Regions from separate parts of the Homo sapiens genome. Here region 1 is linked to region 2. Evidence: promoter capture Hi-C in 16 types of primary human blood cells and fetal thymus (Javierre and others, 2016). All regions are on one chromosome and are shown on one strand. Each heading gives the region's core, a stretch centred on a gene start or on the middle of the fragment in contact. The rest is flanking DNA. Distances are from core to core; before and after follow the strand shown. Region 1 has its middle 130 kb from the start of MOXD1. Region 2 holds the start of SLC18B1 (solute carrier family 18 member B1).

Evidence for each region. The method cuts DNA at HindIII sites, captures the fragments that hold promoters and counts their contacts. A CHiCAGO score of 5 or more calls a contact.
Region 1: a contact is called between a fragment that was not itself captured here and the fragment with the promoter of SLC18B1 in region 2, in 1 of 17 cell types (total B cells). The highest score is 6.6, in total B cells.

The regions. Positions count from the first base shown.
Region 1 is chr6:132,267,217-132,273,495 of GRCh38, reverse strand. It overlaps the pseudogene EEF1A1P36. Among named protein-coding and RNA genes, the nearest start is that of MOXD1, 130 kb to the left of the region's middle. The HindIII fragment of the contact is 1,287 bases long and covers 2,013-3,299 here.
Region 2 is chr6:132,796,169-132,801,980 of GRCh38, reverse strand. SLC18B1 (solute carrier family 18 member B1) reads left to right here and starts at 3,344. Exons shown (of 14, transcript NM_052831.3): 1 at 3,344-3,567; 2 at 4,860-4,999. The coding sequence starts at 3,525. RefSeq lists a silencer at 3,277-3,326 and an enhancer at 4,558-5,058. The HindIII fragment of the contact is 1,643 bases long and covers 3,109-4,751 here.

The DNA.
Region 1 (6,279 bases), core at 1,407-3,906, 530 kb after region 2:
CCAGCTGTTTGGGAGGCTGAGATGGGAGGATCGCCTGAGCCCAGGAGGTTGAGGCTGCAGTGAGCCGTGATGGTGCCACTGCACTCCAGCCTCGGTGACAGAGCAAGACGCCATCTCAAAAAAAAAAAAAAAAGACTAGGGTGAAAAGTATTAGAGATACTGTTCATTTAGCCTTCTGAACTTCCCAGGCAGACTCAGTGACTTTGCCAGCTCCAGCAGCCACTGCTCTAATGACACTTCAGCAGCTGTCTATCTCATATCATGAACAGCAAAATGACCTGGAGGAGCATAGTCAGAGAAGCTCTCAACACACCTAGGCTTGATAGGAACCATATCAACGATAGTTTTCACCCAATTTCGAGAATTTAAGAACCATCTTCCAGTTTCTTACAAGAACATCAGTCAACCTTTTCCTTCAGCTCAGCAAACTTGCAAGCAATGTGCGCCGTGTGACAATCCAGTACAGGGGCATACACAGCCAGCGTGATTCACCCTGGAGGATGCAGGATAATCACCGGAGCAGTGAAGCCTGCTGCTTCCACAGGTGGGTGGTTTTGCTTTCATCAGTGATGTTGCCACGACGAACAGCTTTGCCAGACACATTCTTGACATTAAAGCCCACATTGTCTCCAGGAGGAGCCCACTCAAAGCTTCATGGTGCATTTTAACGGACATTACTTCAGTTGTGATGTTGACTGGAGCAGAGTGTTTACGCTACTGGTTTGAGAACACCAGTGTCCACTTGGCCCACAGGGATAGTGCCAATATCCCAAATTTTGTAGACATCCTGGAGGGGCAGACGCAAGGGCTTGTCAATTGGATGAGTTGGTGGTAGGAAGGAGTCCAGAGCTTCAAGCAGCATGGTTCCATAGGCATTGCCATCTTTACCCTAAACTTTCTATCCCTTAAACCAAGGCCTGTGATCACATGGCTCCAGCATGTTGCTACCATCCCAACCAGAAATTGGCACAAATGCCTCAGTGTAAGGGCTGTGGCCCATTTTCTTAATGTAAGTGCTGACTTCCTTAGCAATTTCTTCATGTCTCTTCTGCTATAGGGTGGCTCAGTGAAATCCATTTTGTAAACAACAACAATTACTTGTTACACATCTGGCATGCAAGCCAGAAGGGTGTGCTCAGGGGTCTGCCCATTCTCAGAGATACCAACTTCAAATTCACCAATGTCAACAGCGACAATCAAGGCAGCGCATTCTACCTGGGATGTGCCTGTAATAATGTTTTTGATAAAGTCTTGTGATGGTCACATAGCACTTGCTGGTCTCAAATTTCCACAGAGAAGTATCAATTGTGACACCACGTTCACACTCAGCTTTCTGCTTATACAAGGCCCAGGCATACTTGAAGGAGCCCTTTCCCATCTCAGCAGACTTCTTATCACATTTTGCAGAGGGTCTCTTGTCAGTCCCACCACATGTTTAGATCAGTAGGGGTGGACTTGCCCAAATCTACCAGCCCAATGATGACAATATTGATGTGAGTCTTTTCCTTTCCCATTTTGGCTTTTAGGGGTGGATTTCACAACATCTGTGTTCCTGTAGCCAAGGAAAAGCTTAACATTGCTTTGGAAAGCAGCGTCTTTTCTGACCTATTTTACTTGTACTTGAAATTTATCTTTTAGAAAAAAATGACTTACATCTAATATTCTGATATAGTATGATTTTTAAAATAGCTTTATTGAGATATAATTCATATATCATATGATTCACCAATTAAATGTGCAATCTAATACTTTTGGTATGAAAAAATATACATTTTTGAAAGCCAATACATCAGGGTTTTTTTTAACCTTAAAACAACATGTGCTATAAAACAAAACAACTTCCTCTTCCCACCTCCTCTTTTCTATTCCAAGAAGAAACAAAGAAACAAAATATGTTTTCTGCAGGAAGGTGTGTGTGTGTGAGACTGTGCATGCATGTGTGTGTCCTCATTAGAGGAAAAACAGAAACTGTCCATTTCTATCAACTATTCAGAAACAAAAAAGGATAAGCTTCACAAGCAGGAGCTTGGAGAAATAAGGAGCAATATTATTCTAGAAACCATCTTTTCTGTTTGTTTTTCAAGATCTGGAGAGGTCCTGCATTTGCTGCCTGACATCCCACTCCACATGGTCTTCCAGAAGGAGCCACAAAAGGTAGGAAGTTGGAAGCCAGCCTTGAAAAGGGAAAGGAAAGGACCCAGCAAGGAAGGAAAACTAGTGGCCAGTGATCAGCTGTGTTTACCCACACTGAGCTTATAAATACAACCTAGGCAATACCTCGTGATTTGGGTGAATTGCCAGGTGCACTTGGATAAAGAGAAAACTCAGGAACACAGGAATAAGAAAGGCCAATGTTTGCTCTTAATATCTGGCTGTTAAAGCAATTTACGCAAATCACACTGGGCTGAGTAAGAAGAGACCAACCAGCTGAGCAACAGCATAGGAGGGAAATTGTCTCAAGACATGGAAGGAGTTTTCACATCCTGTTAAACTTGAGGCTAGTGTTATTTTTTGCAGTAAAGCTATGGAAAATACTGGAAGGTTTGGGCAGGGAGTCTGAAAACAAAAATCATGCTGCTTGTAATTGTATGTCTGCCTCTTTGCCAGCTGATGTAGACGAGAAACCGCCCAGCTGTAGATCATTTCCTCTTGCTTGAATACCCATTTGCAATGATTGATTTTAAAGGTCACAGGAGTGCTTGCCAGCACATTTTTATATAAGGAGTCCAGCCTTCTGTTTTGACATTAGTCAGATGCATATGTGGCACCTGAGGAACAAGGAGGAGACAAAGGATCAGGTTCCCTTTTGGATCCATCACTGTCAAGATGGAAACTCTTGCATGTCTGAGTGCCTTATTTTGGCCCAGACACCCCCAAACTGATGGGGAAAAAAAAAACACCTCTGTAATATTTTTATACCGTAGTCTCAAAATTTTACCCTTTAAATTTTTTCACTCTTCTAAAACTTTTCCTTTTTCTTCCTTCCCTTTCCTGTATCCTTCCCTAAATATTTTCTACATCCTTACTATGCATGTCACGTCCTATGCAGCTACTGGGTATGTATGTAGGAATACCAAATAGTTTTGCATCAGGATGTTTACAAATCTAGTGAAGTTTTGAAAACAAATAATAGCAACACGATCCACCAAGAGACTCACGTACAAGGTACCATGTGTCCAGATTAACAACCTACAAAACATTAAAAGTCCCCACTAATTACTAATTTAATGAAATTATTTCTGCTATCTATCTATAGCTATCTATTGCTATATCTATCTGATTAATAAGTTATGGAAGCTTTTTCTTTTTAGCTTTTCTTTCTTTATAAAAAGTTCACTTATTCTTAGAAGGCTTCCTTGACTGATTTCAACCAACATTTATTAAATGCTTATTAGGGGCCAGCCAGGCAGAGTACTAGGATTCGAGGGTTACAAAAATGCATAGAAAAGCTCCTAACTAAAAATAGCTTATAGTCTTAACAGGTGAGACAGATTCTCAAAGCAATACTATAATGCAGGTAAGTAAGTTCTGCAAGTTATGTGTGAAGTACTTACTATGAGAGCACTGAGCCAAAAGAGATGGCTTTTCTCTGATGGACTTCCTGAGAGATGAGCGGATCAGATGAAGTCACAAAGAGGGGAAGACATTTGAGCTAATGCTTGAGAATCATTAAGAGTTCACCAGACCATCTGGTGGCACTGTGTTTATTTCAGACTTTTACCAAAGTTTAGGTGCAACCCAGTGGGTTTTTACAGCTACAGAATGCAAACATTTCAAAATTGATTATTGCCCATCCTTGTTCTTGGGTCTCTTCATTGCCCTGGTAAGTCCGGTCACGTTAATCAGTCCCTGCGCCTTTATCGAGGCCTTTCCTAGCTTACCCATCTCCTCCATTTATCTAACCCATGACCTAATGGTGTCTTGCAAGTTACCTTTCCACCATCCACTCACTTCTGAGCCTACGTTTCATCTCCAAAAGACCTGTTAATTTGTTCTTTCTCAAAAAAGAATCACCTGCTCTGGGTCTTATCCTATAGCAGAGGCTTTGTAATTTCAGCCTTTCCTTTTCTCCAACAGCTTCTATGACTGGAAGGGAATGGAATAAAGATTTTTTATTCCACTACTAATTATTCAAATACCTATTCCATCCCTAGGCAGTAGAAGTCACCATGGTCAGCTTTCATTTGTAATAATTTTCATCCCTGTGAATAACACTTGACTCCTGACCTCAAAGAGGTCAGGTATTTCTAGGTACTTTATACTAGCATTGCTTGTTCTTACTTATTTATAACTCGTCACATCCCTACAATAAAACATAAATGCAGTGACTGCATACTGTTAATTGGCCAGATTATCTCATGCCAATTTCTCTTACTATTAGATACCAGTTAGTTATAAATGCTGCTGAGCACCTTAATTTTTTAATGAAAAAGCTTTTAAAATAGTAATTGAGTGTTTTGAGCTACCATTTTCTTTTTTCTTTCTTTGTTTCTTCTTTCTTTTTTCTTTCTTTTTTTTTTTGAAACAGAGTCTCACTCCGTCACCCCAGCTGGAGTGCAGGAGTGCAGTGGTGCAGTCTCAGCTCACTGCAACCTCTGCCTCCCAAGTTCAAGCAATTCTCAAGCCTCAGCCTCCAGAGCACCTGGGATTACAGGTGCATACCACCATGCTTGACTAATTTTTATATTTTTGGTAGAGACAGGGTTTCACCTTGTTGGCCAGGCTGGTCTCGAATTCCTGACCTCAAGTGATCTGCCCACCTCGGCTTCCCAAAGTGCCCGGATTACAGGTGTGAGCCACAACGCCCAGCCTGAGCTACTATTTTTTAGGCGATCAAGCCCAGTCTCAACTGCAAGAGACTGAAAATGTGGAACTAATTACAAAACAAAGTAAGTTAATTAAGTAGGGACATAAACATTTAAATGGGATTGGGGTCTATGTTTGACGGTTTGCAACTGGTCAAGTTATATAGTTATAGCAACAAATTCTGCTGTTGCCTTTGTGGTTTAGAATGACTGGACTAAAAATACCCAATTGTTTTTAAGTTCTAAAAAGCAGGCCAAATCCCACTTTAGGGACTCTGTGTTTTCTGACGTTTTCTAAATTTTCTCTTTGAAGGTAGAGAAAATATTGCTTTCTGAGAAAAGGTATGTTCTTGGAACAACTGCATAAAGCTAAAAATAGTGGGAATTGAACATAAGAATGCTCACAGAGAAGTGAGCCAAGCTGTAGATTCTGGTTGTTATATTTGACTAAGAAAGTCTCCAAAAAAGGAAGAAAACAAAATCCTAATAGGTTATATTAAAAATCCAATTGATGTTATTTGAAAAGCAGCTGTCTTTTACGGGGTAAGATTTACTCCCTTTAAAACAATCCATTTTGTTTCATTTATTTTTCTGAGAACTCAGTATGATTCAATTGGCTTAAGATATTACACATTATTGGCTGGATAACTAAATTTAGTTTTGTAGTCATAAAATAGAAATCATAACATTCTACTACAAAGTATAGATTAGCTTCCTTCATGGTTTTTAAAAACGTCTGGTTTCTTTTTAGTTTATAAATGTAAAGCATTGAGGTTTCAAAGAGGAAGTGAAAACTGCCAACTGAAAATGGCTAGTGATCCATCTAAACCCAATGCAATGGCCTTTGGAACATACTATTTGGATATTAAAGAGAGAATAACATTTTTATATATCTGTTGGGAAACAACATCTCTACAACCATATGTTTTAATGATGAGCCTGGAGAGATATTATTTTTTAAAAATTCTTCATTTAAGCCCCCATATCCTTTAATTTTAATTTTTATAGTAAATGACACTATAACAACACTCTGGCTTTTTTTTTTTTGAGACAGTCTTGCTCTGTCGCCCAGGCTGGAGTGCAGTGGTGCAATCTCAGCTCACCGTAACCTTCGCCTCCCAGGTCCAAGTGATTCTCCTGCCTCAGCTTCCTTAGTAGCCGGGATTACAGGTGCACATTACCACACCTGGCTAATTTTTTTTATTTTTAGTAGAGTTGGGGTTTCACCAACATGTTGGCCAGGCTGGTTTCAAACTCCTGACCTCAAGTGATCTACCCTCCTTGGCCTCCCAAAGTGCAGGGATTACAGGTATGAGCCACTGTGCCCTGCCCAACACTCTAGCTTTGAGTGTCTAAATTAGTCTTCAGGCTAATTCACTGGAGGTCATTCATCTTTGTACAGTAGTAATAGAATTGGCAGTTCTCTTAGCTTTCTTTGTTGATAGCTTCTGAGCTCAGAAATAAATTTTCTTTG
Region 2 (5,812 bases), core at 2,095-4,594:
ACGTCCACATCCTAATCCCTGGAACCTGTAAATGTTACCTTATATGAAAAAAAGGGTCTGTGCAGATGTGACTAAATTGGAGAACTTGAGATGAAGAGGTCATCCTGGATTATCCAGGTGGGCCCTAAATTCATTCAAAATATCCTTACAAGAGACTGGCAAACGAAGATTACACACAGAAAAGAAGAGGCACAGTGATCACAGAAACAGAGACTACAGTGATGTGGCACAAAATGCCAATAGTCACTAGAAGCTTCAAGGGGCAAGAAACAGACTCTTCCCTAGAGCTTCTAGAGGGAACATGATCCTGCTGACACCTTGATTTTGGCTCAGTGAAACTGATGTTGAACTTCTGGCTTTGAGGACCTTGTTTTAAGCTATCAAATTTGTGTTGATTTGTACAGCAGCCCCAGAAAACTAACACAATAATATATTTGATTATAAAACTGATTATCTGAAGGGAGAATGAGAGGTAGAGATTACAAGAGGAGCGGAGGATAGGGATATGAATAGACTTTATGTAAATTAAAAGTAGATGGACACATAAGAACATAGATTTTTTTGAGAACATAAAGAACAAGATTTGCATTAAACATGCAAGAATTATTGCAAATGGGGAGAGGAATGAGAATGGAGATACAAGGAAATAGATGGCAACAGAAATGAAACATTCAATTGGCAAGATACAGTTGGCAAGATTCAGTTGGCAAAAATTCAGATGGCAAGATACAGTTAGGGATACTTCCTATAACATGGAGGAAAAAAAAAGAAAAAATAATAACTAGCCAGGTGTGGTGGCACAGGCCTATAGTCCCACCTACTCGGGAGGCTGAGGTGGGAGGATCAGTTGAGCTCAGGAATTTGAGGTTGCAGTGAGCCATTATATGTCATGGTAGCTTGGGAAACAGAGTGAGACCCTGTCTAAAAAAAATAAAATAAAATAAAAGAGAGAAGAAAAAGAGAAATAAGTAAAAGGACCAGTTTGGGTGACCCAACATTCACATAAAGTGCAGTCCAGAAAGAAAATAAAAGAGGAAATGTAATCATCAAAGAAATCATTCAAGAAAATTTCCCTCTACAGATTGATGTTAGATTGAAGAGAAAGCATAGAGTTAAATGAGATTGGAGAAGCTGTCAGGGGTTAGATCATAAAGATTTCATAAGGCTACTTTAGGGAAACTTTGCTAGATTGGAACTTTCTTTTCTTTTCTTTTTTTTTTTTTTTTTTTTTTTTTGAGATGGAGTTTCACTCTTGTTGCCCAGGCTGGAGCACAATGGTGCTGTCTTGGCTCACCACAACCTCTGCCTCCTAGGTTCAAGCGATTCTCCTGCCTCAGCTTCCCGAGTAGCTGGGACTACAGGCATGCGCCACCATGCCCAGCTAATTTTGTATTTTTAGTAGAGACAGGGTTTCTCCATGTTGGTCAGCCTGGTCTCAAACTCTCGACCTCAGGTGATTTGCCTGCCTCGGCCTCCCAAAGTGCTAGGATTACAGGCGTGAGCCACAGCACCTGGCTTAGAGTGGAACTTTCTGTTCAGAGTGGTTCTCTAGGTTCTCCTTTACAACTTGCCCACTGGGGAATTTTTTTTTTTTTTTTTTTGAGATGGAGTCTCGCTCGGTTGCCCAGGCTGGAGTGCAATGGCATGATCTCTGCTCACTGCAACCTCCGAGTCCCAGGTTCAAGCGATTCTCCTGCCTCAGTCTCCTGAGTAGCTGGGTGCCATCATGCCCAGCTAATTTTTGTATTTTTGTAGAGACGGGGTTTCACCGTGTTGGTCAGGCAGGTCTCGAACTTCTGACCTCGTGACCCGCCCACCTCGGCCTCCCAAAGTGCTGGGATTACAGGCGTGAGCCACCGCGCCCGGCCCTCACTGGGGAGTTTTTACATAACCTTCAAGAACCAAGGTAACATCACTTCCTCAGGAAGTCATCCAGGACCCATTTGCCAAAGTAAATGGTTCTTCCAATATGTTTGTATACAACCGATTGCATTATAGTAGATTATTAATTAGTGTGAATTTCATCTGCTAGAAGGTGTGCTACTTGAGGGCAGAGTCTGGATGGGGCTCATTCCTCTTTAAATTCATAATGCCTGGCACAAAGTGGTAACTCAGTCTTTTGTTTTGCTTTGGCTTCAAAACAAGAATTTCCCAGTCCTTAAACTTTATTTATTTATTTGAGACAGAGTTTCGCTTTTTCACCCAGGCTGGAATGAGGTGGCACAGTAATTACAAACTTACTATCAGCCATACTGTGTACTGGAACTGACCTTGTACAGTGGATCTGAGGCAGATTCTCAGTCGATAAAGCTACCCTCACACAATTCTTTTGGATCTTGGCTCACTGTAACCTCCGCCTCCCAGGTTCAAACGATTCTCCTGCCTCAGCCTCCCTAGTAGCTGGGATTACAGGTGCCTGCCACCACGCCTGGCTGATTTTTTTGTATTTTTATAGTAGAGACAGGGTTTCACCATGTTGGCCGGGCTGGTCTAGAACTCCTGACCTCAGGTGAGCTGCCCACCTCGGCCTCCCAAACTGCTGGGATTACAGGCATGAGCCACCGTGTCCAGCCAGTCCTCGAGCTTTAACACTTCCCAAATAGTAAATACGGTGAAAATAAGTGAAACCTATTTTTTATGCAAGAAAACTGTGAGTGTGAGAGTAAGGTAGCAGCCATCATGTTCATGTGCTAACTACTAACACACTTTATCGCCAATGCTCACAGCCGCCCTACGAGATAAACATTATAATCTCAGTTGTACAGGTAGAGAAACTGACCTTGTCATCCAAAGTTACACACTGCCAGCAAGTGCCCTGGCTTGAATCCCTGGCACCTGCCTCCAGAGGTCGCACTCCTAGCCACTTCGCCATGCTTCCTCGATATTCATTAGTATTCTTGCAAATATTTTTCGACTCCAGGTGCTTCACATAGGTTAATTCATTTCCGGTTCAATAGTGTCTGGCTTCAGTAATTACGAACACTACCGCATTTACCCACTGTGAAAAATAATTCACTCTTTCAAAGTTCCTGTATAACCTAATTTTCTAATTCACTTTTGTGTCTTTCAGTTGAGGTACTCCCTGCCTTTTCTGTGTCTACATAAGCTTCCTTTCTTTCGTTTCGTAGGAATAAATTGAACTTATTTTAAGATTGAGGGGGGTACAGCTGTATGGAATATAGACTCATCTTTTTTCACTCTCTGTCACAGAATGAAAAAGGACACCATGATATAGCAGCTGAGGTGGTGGATTAAGATAATGAGGCGGGGGGGGGGCGCAAAACAAAAAAAAAAGGAGCCTTGCTCCACCCCTGCCCCGCCCCCGGCCTCCTCCCGGGGACCCAGAGTCCTGGAAGGCTTTGGGGAGCTCCGGGCCGGGCGGATCGCTGCCTGCAGGGAGTCGGGGATGCCAGGTTCCAGCTGAGCAGCGGCCGCCCGCCAGAGTGCCAGTGGCTCCTTGGAGGTCGAGTCCAAGGACGTGGCTTGAAGCCGGGAGCTGGGGCGCCGGAGTCCACGCACCGGGGATGGAGGCGCTGGGTGACCTGGAGGGACCACGCGCACCAGGAGGTGACCATGAATTGCGTGGCCGGGAGCCCGGAGACCAGCGGCGGCTTCCGGCGTGTCTCTTTAGCAACGATTGAATTGCTTATAGCTTGATCTGTTTCCGAGAGATTGGAAAAGGCTGGGGCCTGATCGTGGGGTTCGGGCCAGCGTTTCTTTTCTCTCTGGACGGGGTAAAGTTCCAGGATTGGATATGTGTCACGGTTTCTAATGACTTTCTAACCTATACCTCTGCTTTTTAAGTACTGTGTGTTTAATGCATTCAAATAAGTATGCCATTAGGCAAATGTAAAACGTTACCTTTCAAGTACCCATTGTTGTTGCCTTTCTTTTTAACTTTCATTTCCCTTTCTCATCTACTACAAACATTTTACAAAGATTCGTAAGACTTCCTCATGTTGCACTGATTTTTTTTTTCCTTCTGGACTGCAATGGCAACCTCTGACAAATAGAGCAAAGCAAATGTATTTCTCTTAAGTTTTTCCTAAAAACAATTTAATTTATAAATGGCTGATGGATTTGCTTGGATATTTGGAACTCAGTAATTGATTTCGTGTTTTTAAATGACAATTTAGCCCTGGAAATAAGTGTTAAATTAACTGATGTAAAAGACCAGTAATTAGGGTAAAAAAAAAGTATTTATTTATGAATTTGTGGGACTTGTCTATCCAGAAGCATACCGCTGTAAATATTAATTCACCAGCTGAATGATTTAGCTTGTTTTCTCCTACTTACACTTCATTTGACTTCAATACTGCCTTAGAAATCTTTGTTTTTTGTTTTTGTTTTTGTTTTTGTTTGTTTGTTTTGTTTTGCTTTTTTGAGACGGAGTCTCTCTCTGTAGCCCAGGCTGGAGTGCAGTGGTGCGATCTTGGCTCACTGCAAGCTCCGCCTCCCGGGTTCACGCCATTCTCCTGCCTCAGCCTCCCGAGTAGCTGGGATACAGGGGCCCGCCACCACGCCCGGCTAATTTTTTGTATTTTTAGTAGAGACGGGGTTTCACCGTGTTAGCCAGGATGGTCTCGATCTCCTGACCTCGTGATCCGCCTGCCTCGGCCTCCCAAAGTTCTGGGATTACAGGCGTGAGCCACCGTGCCCAGCCGAAAGCAGTACGTTTTCAAAACGGCAGTAATGTACAAGGATTGTGTTCCATTTGATCAAATGTGCTATATTCAAAATAGCCCTAAGCTTAGCAAATGATATCTTCAGAGTGCAACATATGTGCACAGAAATCACATTTGTGTACTTTAATCAGTAGTCTCAATTATATGCCTAATTGCTGCATGTTTGCATTCAAGGTGATGATCCTGCAGGAAGTGCAGGAGAGACCCCCGGGTGGCTTTCGAGAGAACAGGTTTTTGTACTGATATCGGCAGCTTCGGTGAACTTAGGTTCCATGATGTGCTATTCTATACTTGGACCGTTTTTCCCCAAAGAGGTAAGACATTTTTAAATCCTTAGGACCTCTGTTTTTTTGTTTGTTTGTTTTTTAAAAGCCTTTTGAATTATTTTATTTTATAGTATATAAAATGTAAAAATCTGCATATAGGACAGATGGTGTATAGAACTCCAGCCAATAGAATACTTCTTATAGAATGCCTGATACCAGGAAAAAAAATCCAGTCAAAAAGAACATCTTCTTGGGAGGTAATTCACCTAAAAGTAGTTGATCTTCTGAGAATTACTTTTCTTACCATGTAGTCTGATTAATCTTTATTTGGTTTCTGCAACTGAAACAAAGGAGTGCACTGAATAACTGAGATTCAAATGTTACTGCAATAGGTCTGTGTTAAGACAGTAACTATTTTCTCGAGGTTTTATTCACATTTTAGAATTAGGACGTTTTGATTCCCGACCCCCCTTCCTTTTTTTTTTTTTTTTTTTTTTCCTTTCGAGACAGGGTTTCGCTCTTGTTGCCCAGGCTGGAGTGCAATGTTGTGATCTTGGCTCACTGCAACCTCTGCCTCCCGGGTTCAATTGATTCTCCTGCCTCAGCCTCCCGAGTAGCTGGGATTACAGGCGCCTACCACCACGTCCGGGTAATTTTTTTTTTTTTTTTTTTTTTGAGATGGAGTCTCGCACTCTCGCCCAGGCTGGAGTGCAGTGGCGCGATCTCGGCTCACTGCAAGCTCCGCCTCCTGAGTTCACGCCATTCTCCTGCCTCAGCCTCCCAAGTAGCTGGGACTACAGGTACCCGCCACTACGCCCAGCTAATTTTTTTTTTTGTATTGTTTTAGTAGAGACGGGGTTT